2 separate regions of the Homo sapiens genome follow, and region 2 is linked to region 1. The links are contacts of gene promoters, found by promoter capture Hi-C in blood cells and fetal thymus (Javierre and others, 2016). All regions are on one chromosome and are shown on one strand. Each heading gives the region's core, a stretch centred on a gene start or on the middle of the fragment in contact. The rest is flanking DNA. Distances are from core to core; before and after follow the strand shown. Region 1 holds the start of H3C2 (H3 clustered histone 2). Region 2 holds the start of H4C7 (H4 clustered histone 7).

Region 1 (5,433 bases), core at 1,096-3,595:
GTCTATTTTTGGATGGTATATTCTGCAAACAACACCCCCTTTTTGTCTCCAATCTCTCCTTAATTACTCCTCTAATACAAAACAATAGATTCTTAATATAATATTAAAATGTTTGCACTACTCACAAATACAAAATGCTCAATAAATTTTCTTTCACAAATGAGAATTTCATCCATTCGTTAATTTTTAAATATCAACTGTCAATGAAGAGTTACAGCAGAATCCTTGTTCTGTTGAGGAGGGGGCAAAGAATGTAAGTGAGGGAGTGGAAAATAGCTGGACTGAGCTACCACCCCCTGTCCATCTGATCCTCAGACAGTAATGTAACTTTATTCTTTTATGCTATTCGTCAGACCCAGTACCTCCAACACATTTGTTTCCTACAGATAAAGAAAATATAAAAAGTCAAGCGCTATACATCAGATCCAGCACATCTATAACTGGAAAAAAAATACTTGACCTTCAGCTGGGCCCAGAGCTTGTGAGTAGTCACCTTGGCATAGACCAAGTCCATTGGCATCTCTAACATATCTATACTGTCTGTGGATAACAAATGTCTATGCCAGTTAGAGTCGCTTGTATAAGAGTCAAGAAAAACGAATCATAAAACAAACTGACATATTCATTTTCATAATTTTTAAAATGCAAATATTACTTTATAAACCAAAAACTGCCTTATTAAAAGCTGGAACACAAATGAATTTAAGTAAACGATGCAATTCAAATTTAATCTTTTGTGTGTGTGATTTGTTGTTGTTGACAGTTGGTCAGGCGATTTTAGTATGGTACATCAGTTTACATTCTAGATGTAGGCCAAGAAAGAATGTTAGGTGTAAAAAATATTTATTGTAAAAAAGAATGTGAGGCAAGGTCTTTGGAATTAGTAGTTTTAATGTTGGACATTCTGTGGTTGTTCTAAAGTTAGTCTGTAAAATGTGATGTAAAAGCTATATGATAAAAAAATACAAAATATAAAAATTTTAAAGTAAATATTACTTTTGTTTGCGTACAGTATTCCCATCCCTCTAAATTTTCTTCCAGTACTCAATCCCCAACCTCCAAAACCGAAAAGCAAGATCAACAGAAAGAAAATGGTTAAAACTTGTAAATTCTAGATTTTAATAACTACAGGCAAGAAGTACTGAAAAAAAGAATGTGGCATGTCATGGTGCATAGTCCTAGAGGAGACAAAGCAATGCAACCAGATAGACTATTTACAAGCAAAGCCACACATATAAAAATTCATATATAAGGGATTAAATTATGCTTGGTCGACAGACTGACAGATTTAAAGTGGGTAGCTAGCTATGGATAAAATGAGAGCCAGTTAGATCCCTGCCTCACATTTTGCACCAGAATAAATTTCAGGTTAATGTTAACAGCCAAATGAATTTAACAGTATATATATATATATATATATATATAATATATGAGAAAACCTAGGGGACTATGTATTGAGCTGAGAAAATCTTCCTAAGCATTTTGAGGAAGACACTGGAACTCGCAAGACACAATTTTCTAATCTTTTCAAAGCTTTGCAAAAATGCCTAGTAAGCGCCAGTTAACTACTTACCAGATTTTTCCCTTACTCTTACAAAGTTGTTTAAACAAATGCTAATCATAGCAAGCTAGAGGCCTGAATGATAGTGGACTTACACAGCTTCTCTCCAAATAGCACCTTAATAAGGTCAGAAATAACCTACACTGCAAGACTGACCAAACCGTTATTTCTGTTAATCAACTTTAAGACCATAGTCTAATGCTTTCCGGGGGGGTCCTTAGAAATTTGTTCTGTTAAGACAACAAAAAATTATCACAGCTACTTTCGTTGGAATAAGTGGGTGGCTCTGAAAAGAGCCTTTGGGTTTTAAGACTGATGAAAAAGTGACTTTACATTTACGCTCTTTCTCCGCGAATGCGGCGAGCGAGCTGGATGTCTTTGGGCATAATAGTCACTCGCTTAGCATGGATGGCGCAAAGGTTTGTGTCCTCAAAGAGCCCTACCAAGTAGGCCTCACAAGCCTCCTGCAGCGCCATCACCGCAGAGCTCTGGAAGCGAAGATCGGTCTTGAAGTCTTGGGCGATTTCTCGCACCAGGCGCTGGAACGGCAGCTTCCGAATCAGCAACTCGGTCGACTTTTGGTAGCGGCGGATCTCGCGCAGAGCCACAGTGCCCGGGCGGTAACGGTGAGGCTTTTTCACGCCGCCGGTAGCCGGCGCGCTCTTGCGAGCAGCCTTGGTAGCCAGCTGCTTGCGTGGCGCTTTACCGCCGGTGGATTTCCGAGCTGTCTGTTTAGTACGAGCCATGGCAAAACCACAGAAAAGCTTGCCTGCAGAGACGTCTGTGGAGGAAAGGAAAGAGCTACTCTTCTTTTATAGAGTCAGACCACCAACTATTGGACCCAAGAAAATTCAAAAATCCCCGCGCCCTTCTTGGATTGGTCCATCTCTGTGCCTGGTTGCAGATTAAGAGAGGCTCCTGCCCATTACCGTAGCTACTCTGACGTCATTTTGTTAACCCCTTAGCTGCTATATCCACTGTGGACAAGTCTTGTACTGGAAAAGTTTCCTGAAGTCTTAAAATTTACAACCACACAAAGCAACGCGGAAACCTCCAATTGTTTCTAGTTAAAATATAAAAAAGAAATCAGAGAATATTGGAGACGATTAGGGAAATTTGCATATGCGCTTTATTTAAAATTGTATTTTTCTGGGTGTCGCATAAGAAGTGTGGGCAATTAGAAAAATGCTCTTAGCCGGGCGTGGCGGCTCTCGCCTGTAATCCCAGCTACTCAGAAGGCTGTCAAGAGGATCGCTTGAGCCCGAGTTCGAGGTTACAGTGAGCTGTTATCACGCCGCTGCACTGCAGCTTGGGCGAGAGGGAGACTCCACCCCAAAACAAAGCAAAACATCCCCAAACTGGAAAAAAGCTCATTTTGGGAAATACATACTCAAATGTTCAGTGGTAATGTGTGTGCTCTCAATTGTGTATGCCATTAATTGCTACAGCAAATGGTATGACATATTCAAACTTGTGTGGGGCATGCGGGTTTTAACACTTCCATTCAAGATAGTTAGGAATGCACTCATGGGTATAATTTCCTTCCTCTAAAATGTAGTAACTGCTGTGTGTGAAACTTAACGCGAATCACCCCTGTAAACATGTTTTGTGCTGCATGGCACTTCTCCCACATACCTAGAATTCCTGAGGTTTCTATGGATCTAATTTCTGCAGGACAAATTACTAAAAGTGCCACACTCAAAGCCATTAAAAACACCTCAAAAACATCTTTATGGGCGGCATAATCCAAAGCACAACAGCTCATTTAATGGAAGTCGTAGGTGGCTCTGAAAAGAGCCTTTGCTGTTAGGCTGATTTTGTCTGCTGACAGAAAAACAGCAGTGCATGAAGCGTTAACTCTTCACTTTCCCTTGGCCTTATGATGGCTCTCAGTTTTCTTAGGCAGCAGCACCGCCTGAATATTAGGCAAAACGCCACCCTGCGCGATGGTCACACGCCCCAAGAGTTTATTAAGCTCCTCGTCATTGCGGATGGCCAATTGCAGGTGGCGCGGGATGATGCGGGTCTTCTTGTTGTCGCGGGCCGCATTGCCCGCCAGCTCCAGGATCTCGGCGGTCAGGTACTCAAGCACCGCCGCGAGATACACCGGCGCGCCAGCCCCGACGCGCTCGGAGTAGTTGCCTTTGCGGAGCAGGCGGTGCACTCGGCCCACAGGAAACTGCAAACCTGCACGAGAAGACCGAGTCTTAGCCTTGGCGCGAGCTTTACCGCCTTGTTTGCCGCGACCAGACATAACTACTTCTGATAAGGGAAAATCGCCACAAGAAAATGTAATGAAACTACATTAGAACGCAAGGCAGAGAAGTATTTATACTGACTGGAGGTAGGCTGTGAGGAATTCTCCCATTGGCTAATGTCAAATACCCAATGGGAAATCAGAATCTGCATCCTTCATTTGCATGTAATCCTTCCGTCTGGTGTAAGGTTTATGTTTGACCCAATCCCCAGTCTGGCTTGACGAGCCTTCGACTTGAATACTAATAATAATTGGCCGAATTAGGATTTTGTCAAAATACCTTTTTTAAGCATGAGTGGAGGTTTTGTTCTGGTTATTTTGACTTTCAGCCGCTCGTGCTTTTCCCGGATTGTGACTCATGTTTTTGGAAAGGAGTGGACTCCGACCAATTTCTAAATAGATATTTAAGAGGTCCTTCAAATCGGGCGCAGTGGCTCATGCCCGTAATACCAGCACTTTGGGAGGCCGAGGACGGCGGGTCAGGCGTTCGAGACCAGCGTGGACAACATGGAGAAACCCTGTCTCCAGTAAAATAACCAAAAAAGAAACGGGGGAGAAAAAGAAAAAAAAAAGCCGGGCTTGGTAGTGCACGCCTGTAGTTCCAGTTACTCGAGAAGCTGAGGTGGGAGGATCGCTTGAACCCGAGAGGAGGAGGTTGCAGTGAGTTCACATAGAGCCACCACACTCCAGCGTGGGCGACAGAGCCAGAAGACTGTGTCTCAAAGACAAAAAAAGGGGAGGGGGAGTGGGAGGGAAGAAAAGCGAATACCCCAAATCCCAGTGAACTGTAGAAGCTTATAAGCTCTCTTGATTCATAAGGGAGAAAGAAGGGGGATGTAGGCAACTTAGGGGAGAGTATATGATTTTGGAGAAAAATAAATGGGTGTTTCAAAGAATAGGTGACAGCTGTGACAAAGTCTGTTTAGATGGTGTTAACCACCAGTCTCCTCTCCTGTGATACAGTTAATCTTCTCTGGTTGATGAGATTCCCCAGGGAAGTGAATCTTAACAACTAAATTCCTTTTTGAATTTTTTTTTAATTTTCAAATTTTTGATTAGAGTTCAGCGAAAGCCCTTCCTTGAATTTACTGTTTCCTAGGTGCCCTCAGTTCAAAGAAATCAGCGTAACAAAGTGGCACATTTTTGAGTTGCATTTCCTGAACTTTTTCACAACACTGAATGAGGAGTCTCTGGAATCTTTCAGGAAATGAGAGAACAAACATTCCATAACACAGAAATACTCAAAATGGGATTATGATTATAAAAGTGTTTCACTGACCACCTTCTGCCTTCCTGTCTGTAAGTCCCATTCTCCCCAAAGTCTAGCCATAGAAACCAGAATTCCTCCTCAAGGTAGGCCATACAAACCAGAACTCCTTTTCCCTAGAACCAGCCATAAAACCTAAAAGTATTACTCTAACCTACCTTGTTTGCCTGTAGGTCATAAGACCCCCCATTCTAAAAGAGAGTCTTGTCCTATAACCAGAAGGAAGAAATGCTGCACTGAGAGGTCAAGAAGAATCTTGACAGACAAGCCTTGCGGGGCTTCCCCACTCAGTCTGTTAGCATTAGATCGTACCCTATACAGCTGTTTATCTTGTTGAACCTAAGCATA
Region 2 (5,781 bases), core at 2,826-5,325, 210 kb after region 1:
AAATTATCAAAGTATCCCATCTAGTAAGTAAAAATATTGTGTCATAAAATTTTAGTTTCAAATAGATGTACTTTTGGTTTTACTTTGGAACTTGAAGGAGAAAAGGTTCAAAAGATACTGGTCCATTTATTTAATGTATATATTTGTCAAATTCTCAGGTTAGGACATTGCCTCACTTCCCTGGGTTTCAGAACTTCAATACTCAGCCTCATTTGCAGCTGGAATGCAGATCTGTAACCTAGGCTTCACCAATGAGTCACAGGTTTAAAAGACTTATCTTCAAAAATGGGACCCAGGAGAGAAGAGACTGCCTAAAGCCTCTGTTTCTGCTGTGACAGATGTCAGATGGGCCAACTTTTGGTAGTAGCAGCAGCCATAGGTTACAGGTGAGTCAAGTTCTGATTCAGAAATAACAGGTGTGACACACCAGCACCTGACTAGTTCTGCAGCACAGCTTTGGAGTTTGTCCCTGGGAGTGTCATCAGGCGTGGTTCTACAGCCCTCCCAAGAATGCTAATATCTATTCAATATCCCTTTAAACATCACAGTTAATGTGCGATTACCAGTCAGCTGGCAACTAAGAATTTAGAGTTTCAAACAAAAAGGGTTTTAACTATTTTCTAATGGACTTTTGTGTATTTTAGGAATTCGGAGTCGTTTTACAACACTATTAAAAGGTTTTATGCCTTACTATACTTCTGGTAGCAATAATGCCTCCCCCCCAGATGCCCGCATCTTAATCCCAAAAGCTGCGAATATGTTTCCTTAAATGGTAAAAGTAACTTTCCAATGTTATTAAATTAAGGCTTTTGAGATTGGATGATTCTGGATTACCTGAGTGGTGCCATTGTAATCACAAGGATCCTTATAAGTAGAAGCGAGGAGAGTCAGAGTCAGAGAAGTGATAAGGGTAATGGAGTGTGATGCCTTTTGTAAACAGAGGAAGGGGCCACACTAGTTGCCCTTTGTTTCCTGAAACACATAAAGCTTTTCTCACCTTGAGATTTTCCACTTGCATGTCCTCTGGCCCAGAACATCCTTGGCGTGGCTCCCAATCTATGTGTGACTTCACACAAGAGCAGTGATATTTAAGCCAGTCATTTTGGCTACAATTCACTGTTTAAACACTATGTCATACTTTACAGGGCCATAGAAAATTATGGCAATTGCTGGAATGTTGTTTGACAGAATAGAGTGGAGAAACCCTGAAAGGTAAAAAGCTTGGCTTTGACAGAAAAAATAAATAACAATGAGAAAATGTGTATCCTAGAAAGGGTTTTTAAATTCTAGATTGACTCTTGCATTAAAATCTATTTTTAAAAAGTTTTGTTGTGTTCTGCTTCATGTGTTTGTTGTTGTTAAACAATGATTATTGTGTCGTTTCATTTACCCCTATGAAAGTGAAATAATACAAATCAAACATACACCATTGTAAGTTAAAAACTCATAGATTGAGAAAGTAAATATTTAATTCTGTGGAATTAAGTATATAAAGTTTTTCTTATATAAGAGTCTGTAGATCCTGTGTGGTTTACAGAAAAATTTAACTTTGACACCGTCTCTACAAGCTGTTTCCAGTGGCAAGGCAAAGGATTGGCCAAAAAAAAAAAAAAAAAAAAAACATATAATAGAAACACAGAACTGTTCACGACGTTTATTTTATGAAACATGGAAGTGGTGTCATTTCCTCATAAAGTGTCTTCCAGTAGGACCTCTAGACTTATTTCCACTTTCTCCTCCAAGCCCTGGGCTTTGGGAGACTAACTGTATGGTTCTGACCAATATGCTACCCAGACCTCCACCTTCTGGAAGGATTCAGCCAGTGGAAACCCCATGCAGGAGACTGGAGGAAAGGAGGAAAATGAGATGGGGTATTTATTCCCCAGTTTCCCTTTCATTGGCTGTTAGCAGCATCTCTCCAGACCAGGGATCCCTCTCTCTGCAGCTATAGCAATTGCTTCCCATGCCCCTTCAGGGTTATAAGTGATCCTTACTAGACCTGGATGGAGGCACTACTTTTTTAGTTTTCTGTATCCTGCCCTTAATTTGCAAATAATTTCTTTAAGAAACCCTCCTCCAATTATCCCATGTGAGTAAGCTACTTGTTTCCTGTCTTGACCTTAGCAGAACCCAATATTTTCACTACACAGCACAAAGTTTATGGCCATAATATCCAAAAGAATTGATGTAACTTAAATGCAAGTTTCTCCATGTCACACCTCATTAACATGCTTCCAACAGCATAAGGTTAATTCTCAGTTTCTCAATTTGCAAGAGGAGGCCCTCCTCAATCAGGCAACTGCCAGGCATGCATCTTTGGTCATATATGTATTCCCAGTCTCCATGGCATCAAACTACTTATTGCCCCTTGTGTCTTCACACTAGTGGAGACCTACCCTCTCCCAACAGTACCTGAACTGCCCTGTTCCCATGTCCCTCCCCTCTGGCTAACAGCTGATCATGATGAGTGAGAGCAAGAGGAATAAATGTGCCTGCATATGACAAGTGTCATGCGGCTCAGTGTCCTGCTACTTGCATCCTCTCTCTGCAGACAGGTCTTTTACACTTACCTGTTCAGAGACCTCTCCCGTGATGGCACCAGAGTTTGTAACAGTTTATTATGTTAATTTTTCCCAAATTTTTATTATAAAAATATTCAGAATAAAACATAACAAAAGATGGGTTTATCAGTCATCCACTACCTACATTCAATAGAGTGGATTTTACCACCATCCGAAAGTAAATGACAGACTCATGAGAATTTACACCTACACACTTCAGCATCTAACCCCTAACAATAAGGGAAATTCCATGTAATCTCAATATATCAAACCTTTCTTTAAAAACTTACTAAAATGACCTGTTATCCAGTTCACGTTCAAGTTTCCTTGATTATCTCCAAAATGCCCTTTAAAACTTTAGAGACAGAATGCAATTAATACATTTAGTTGCTATGTTACTTTAATCTCCTTCAAACTTAAAGTCCTCCAGTTTTTCTCGGTGGCTTTTTGAACAAAGCAATTGTCCCAAATGTTCCACATTCTGGAAGGTTTTTTCCCCCTCTTGAGATGTTTAATTGGCTCTTTGACCCCTGTACTTTCATAAACAGTAAATTGAGACACGAATTATTGCAGTTACACCTTATCAAGGTGTTTCTATATTTACGATGGATCACAAGCAAAGGCACGAAACAGGTAAACTTCTTTTAGTGCTGCTAAATTAGATCATTGAACTAGCAAGGGGGCCAGTCCCTCCACTGCAGACACATTTGTCAGAACGGCACCTGGCAAGTTTGTGCTAATTATTGTGTATTCTCTGGTTATTGAAATTGCTTATTAAGCAGAATATAAAAGTCGGGTTATCTTGGCACTAAAACTACAATTTTAATTACGGAGGGTAATCCTAACAGTAAGGAGAAAAACACACTACCATAACCACATTTTGAGAGCTTTTAAGTGACAATGTAGCCGTTGATGTCCTCAGCCAGCCCACCAGATTTCTAATCTCTGAACACACGATTAACTTACCACCTGTATTCCATGTTGTATGTCAGCCTTGGCGTAAATTTATACTTTACAGCATTATACACCTAACAGCTTTTGGGCACCTACAGCAATAAAACACACAATATTGCTGAGTGCGTTAGTTAAGTTTCCACAATGTCAAACGTGAGCCCTTCGGAAGAAAACGTACGCGGCCCTGAAAAGGGCCATTAACGATATTGCAAGGAAAGGCCTGGCCTCACTTAACCGCCAAAGCCTTACAGGGTTCTTCCCTGGCGTTTGAGCACGTAGACCACGGCCATGGCGGTGACCGTCTTGCGCTTGGCGTGCTCCGTGTTGGTCACGGCGTACCAGATCACATTTTCCAGGAACACCTTGAACACCCGGCGGGTCTCCTCATAAATGAGGCCCAAGATGCGCTTGACACCGCCATGCCGGGCCAAGCGCCGGATAGTGCACTTGGTAATGCCCTGAATATTATCGCTCAGTACCTTGCGATGGCACTTGGCACCGCCTTTCCCAAGGCCTTTTCCGGCCTTGCCCCGAACAGACATGATAAACAAGTCAGAACTATCTCTAAACAAAACGATTACTCGCTTTCCGCAGCCTTTTATATAACGGTAGAGTAGACCTTTTTGAAAACTGAAAGACCAGGAAAGGCGGGAAAACGTATTCAGTCCCCGCTCATCTACTTCTAGTAATAACAAGACATAAGAAATTCTCTTGTAGTAGGGAGATTTGCTGGCATTTAGAGAATAAGGATCTCTAAACGAAAGTGTCAAACATGTACCTAGAGGAAAGTATCTCGATTTTTGATGTCTGTATGTGTTTAAAGATTTACTCCTGGCCGGGCGCGGTGGCTCACGCCTGTAATCCCAGCACTTTTGGAGGCCGAGGCGGGCGGATCACGAGCTCAGGAGATCGAGACCATCCTGGCTAACACGGTGAAACCCTGTCTCTAATAAAAATACAAAAAATTAGCAGGGCGAGGTGGCGGGCGCCTGTAGTCCCAGCTATGCAGGAGGCTGAGGCAGAAGAATGGCATGAACCCCGTGGGGTGGAGCCTGCAGTGAGCCGAGATCACGTCACTGCACTCTAGCCTGGGCAAGGGCGAAGCCCGTCTCAAAAAAGAAAAAAAAAAGATTTACTCCTTCCCTGTATATTAGAGCATTTACCATGCTGAAGTTGAAACAAGCCCAAATTCCAAGACATAAAAGAATTCCTAATCATATTGCCAAGCCGCCCAGCTAAAGAGAAGTAGCCTGGTTTTTGGTTTCGAATCTGTGAGTGACTGCTCTCTCACCGATATTAGACATGTTAATCTGAGTTTCAATGGCCCTATCTGTAAAAAGGGTAAATACTTGTTAATAATTGAGTTACTTTAAGCAAAACACTGGCATATAGTTAGTAAATGATTTTTTTTTAAAATACGGAGTTTCGCTCTTGTTGCCCAGGCTGGAGTGCAATGGCGCAATCTCTGCCCACTGCAACCTCCACCTTCTGGGTTCAAGCTATTCTCCTACCTCGGCCTCCCAAGTAGCTGGAATTACAGGTATGTGCCACCACTCCCGGCTCATTTTTGTATTTTAGTAGAGACCAGATTTCACGTTGGCCAGGCTGGTCTCCAACTCCTGCCCTCAGGTGATCCGCCCGCCTTGGCCTCCCAAAGTGCTGGGATTACAGGCGTGAGCCACCTCACCGGCCAGTTGGTAAACGAATTCTTATTGCCACAGCCTTTTTTTACAGACAAAATAATAATGCAGAGGTAAAGCACACCGAAGGATTTTAAAACATTGCCTTTGCAACACCAATACATTCAGTGTGCTTTCACTTATATTAAGCACTATACAATTAAGCAATGAAGAATTGCCCAGAAAAAAGATAATGTAAATTGCCAGAGGCTCCATGCCCTGTTCTCATGTGGAGGACAGAAGGTACAGGGGGTGACTGTCTTCTGGGGTTGATACAACAGGAAACTCAGGGAAAGCTGTCATAAATGTTAATAGGAGAAAAGGGGAATTTGCTCACAAGCCAAAATAAAGACATAAGCACCACTAAATTTTTACATTACAAAATACTTGCTGAGCTAGTTAAACGAGAGCATTTAAGTGGAAATAAATGATGTCTCTAAAATAGAATGTTCAAAATAACAATGGATTTTTTATTGTGCAGTTACGATGCACCAAACAAACAGTCCTAAAGATCATGGGTTTTTGAAGCAGGGTCAGCAATATCTAAAAAATCATGTAACTGCATAAATGAATTATGGCCTAATGAG

The links. Contacts are between HindIII fragments. The CHiCAGO score rates a contact against its expected background, and 5 or more counts as called.
Region 2: the fragment with the promoter of H4C7 here is called in contact with the fragment with the promoter of H3C2 in region 1 in 6 of 17 cell types (erythroblasts, fetal thymus, neutrophils and 3 more); the score reaches 14.3 in erythroblasts.

What each region holds. Positions count from the first base shown.
Region 1 is chr6:26,029,754-26,035,186 of GRCh38, forward strand. H3C2 (H3 clustered histone 2) reads right to left here and starts at 2,346. Exons shown (of 1, transcript NM_003537.4): 1 at 1,836-2,346. The coding sequence starts at 2,307. The coding sequence ends at 1,897. H2AC4 (H2A clustered histone 4) reads right to left here and starts at 3,865. Exons shown (of 1, transcript NM_003513.3): 1 at 3,339-3,865. The coding sequence starts at 3,815. The coding sequence ends at 3,423. RefSeq lists enhancers at 1,983-2,212, 2,253-2,372, 3,310-3,939, 4,243-4,302, 4,343-4,392 and 1 more and a silencer at 3,723-3,822. The HindIII fragment of the contact is 2,287 bases long and covers 2,324-4,610 here.
Region 2 is chr6:26,242,921-26,248,701 of GRCh38, forward strand. It overlaps H4C7 (H4 clustered histone 7), which reads right to left and starts at 4,076. Exons shown (of 1, transcript NM_003547.3): 1 at 3,691-4,076. The coding sequence starts at 4,057. The coding sequence ends at 3,761. The HindIII fragment of the contact is 5,476 bases long and covers 1,219-5,781 here.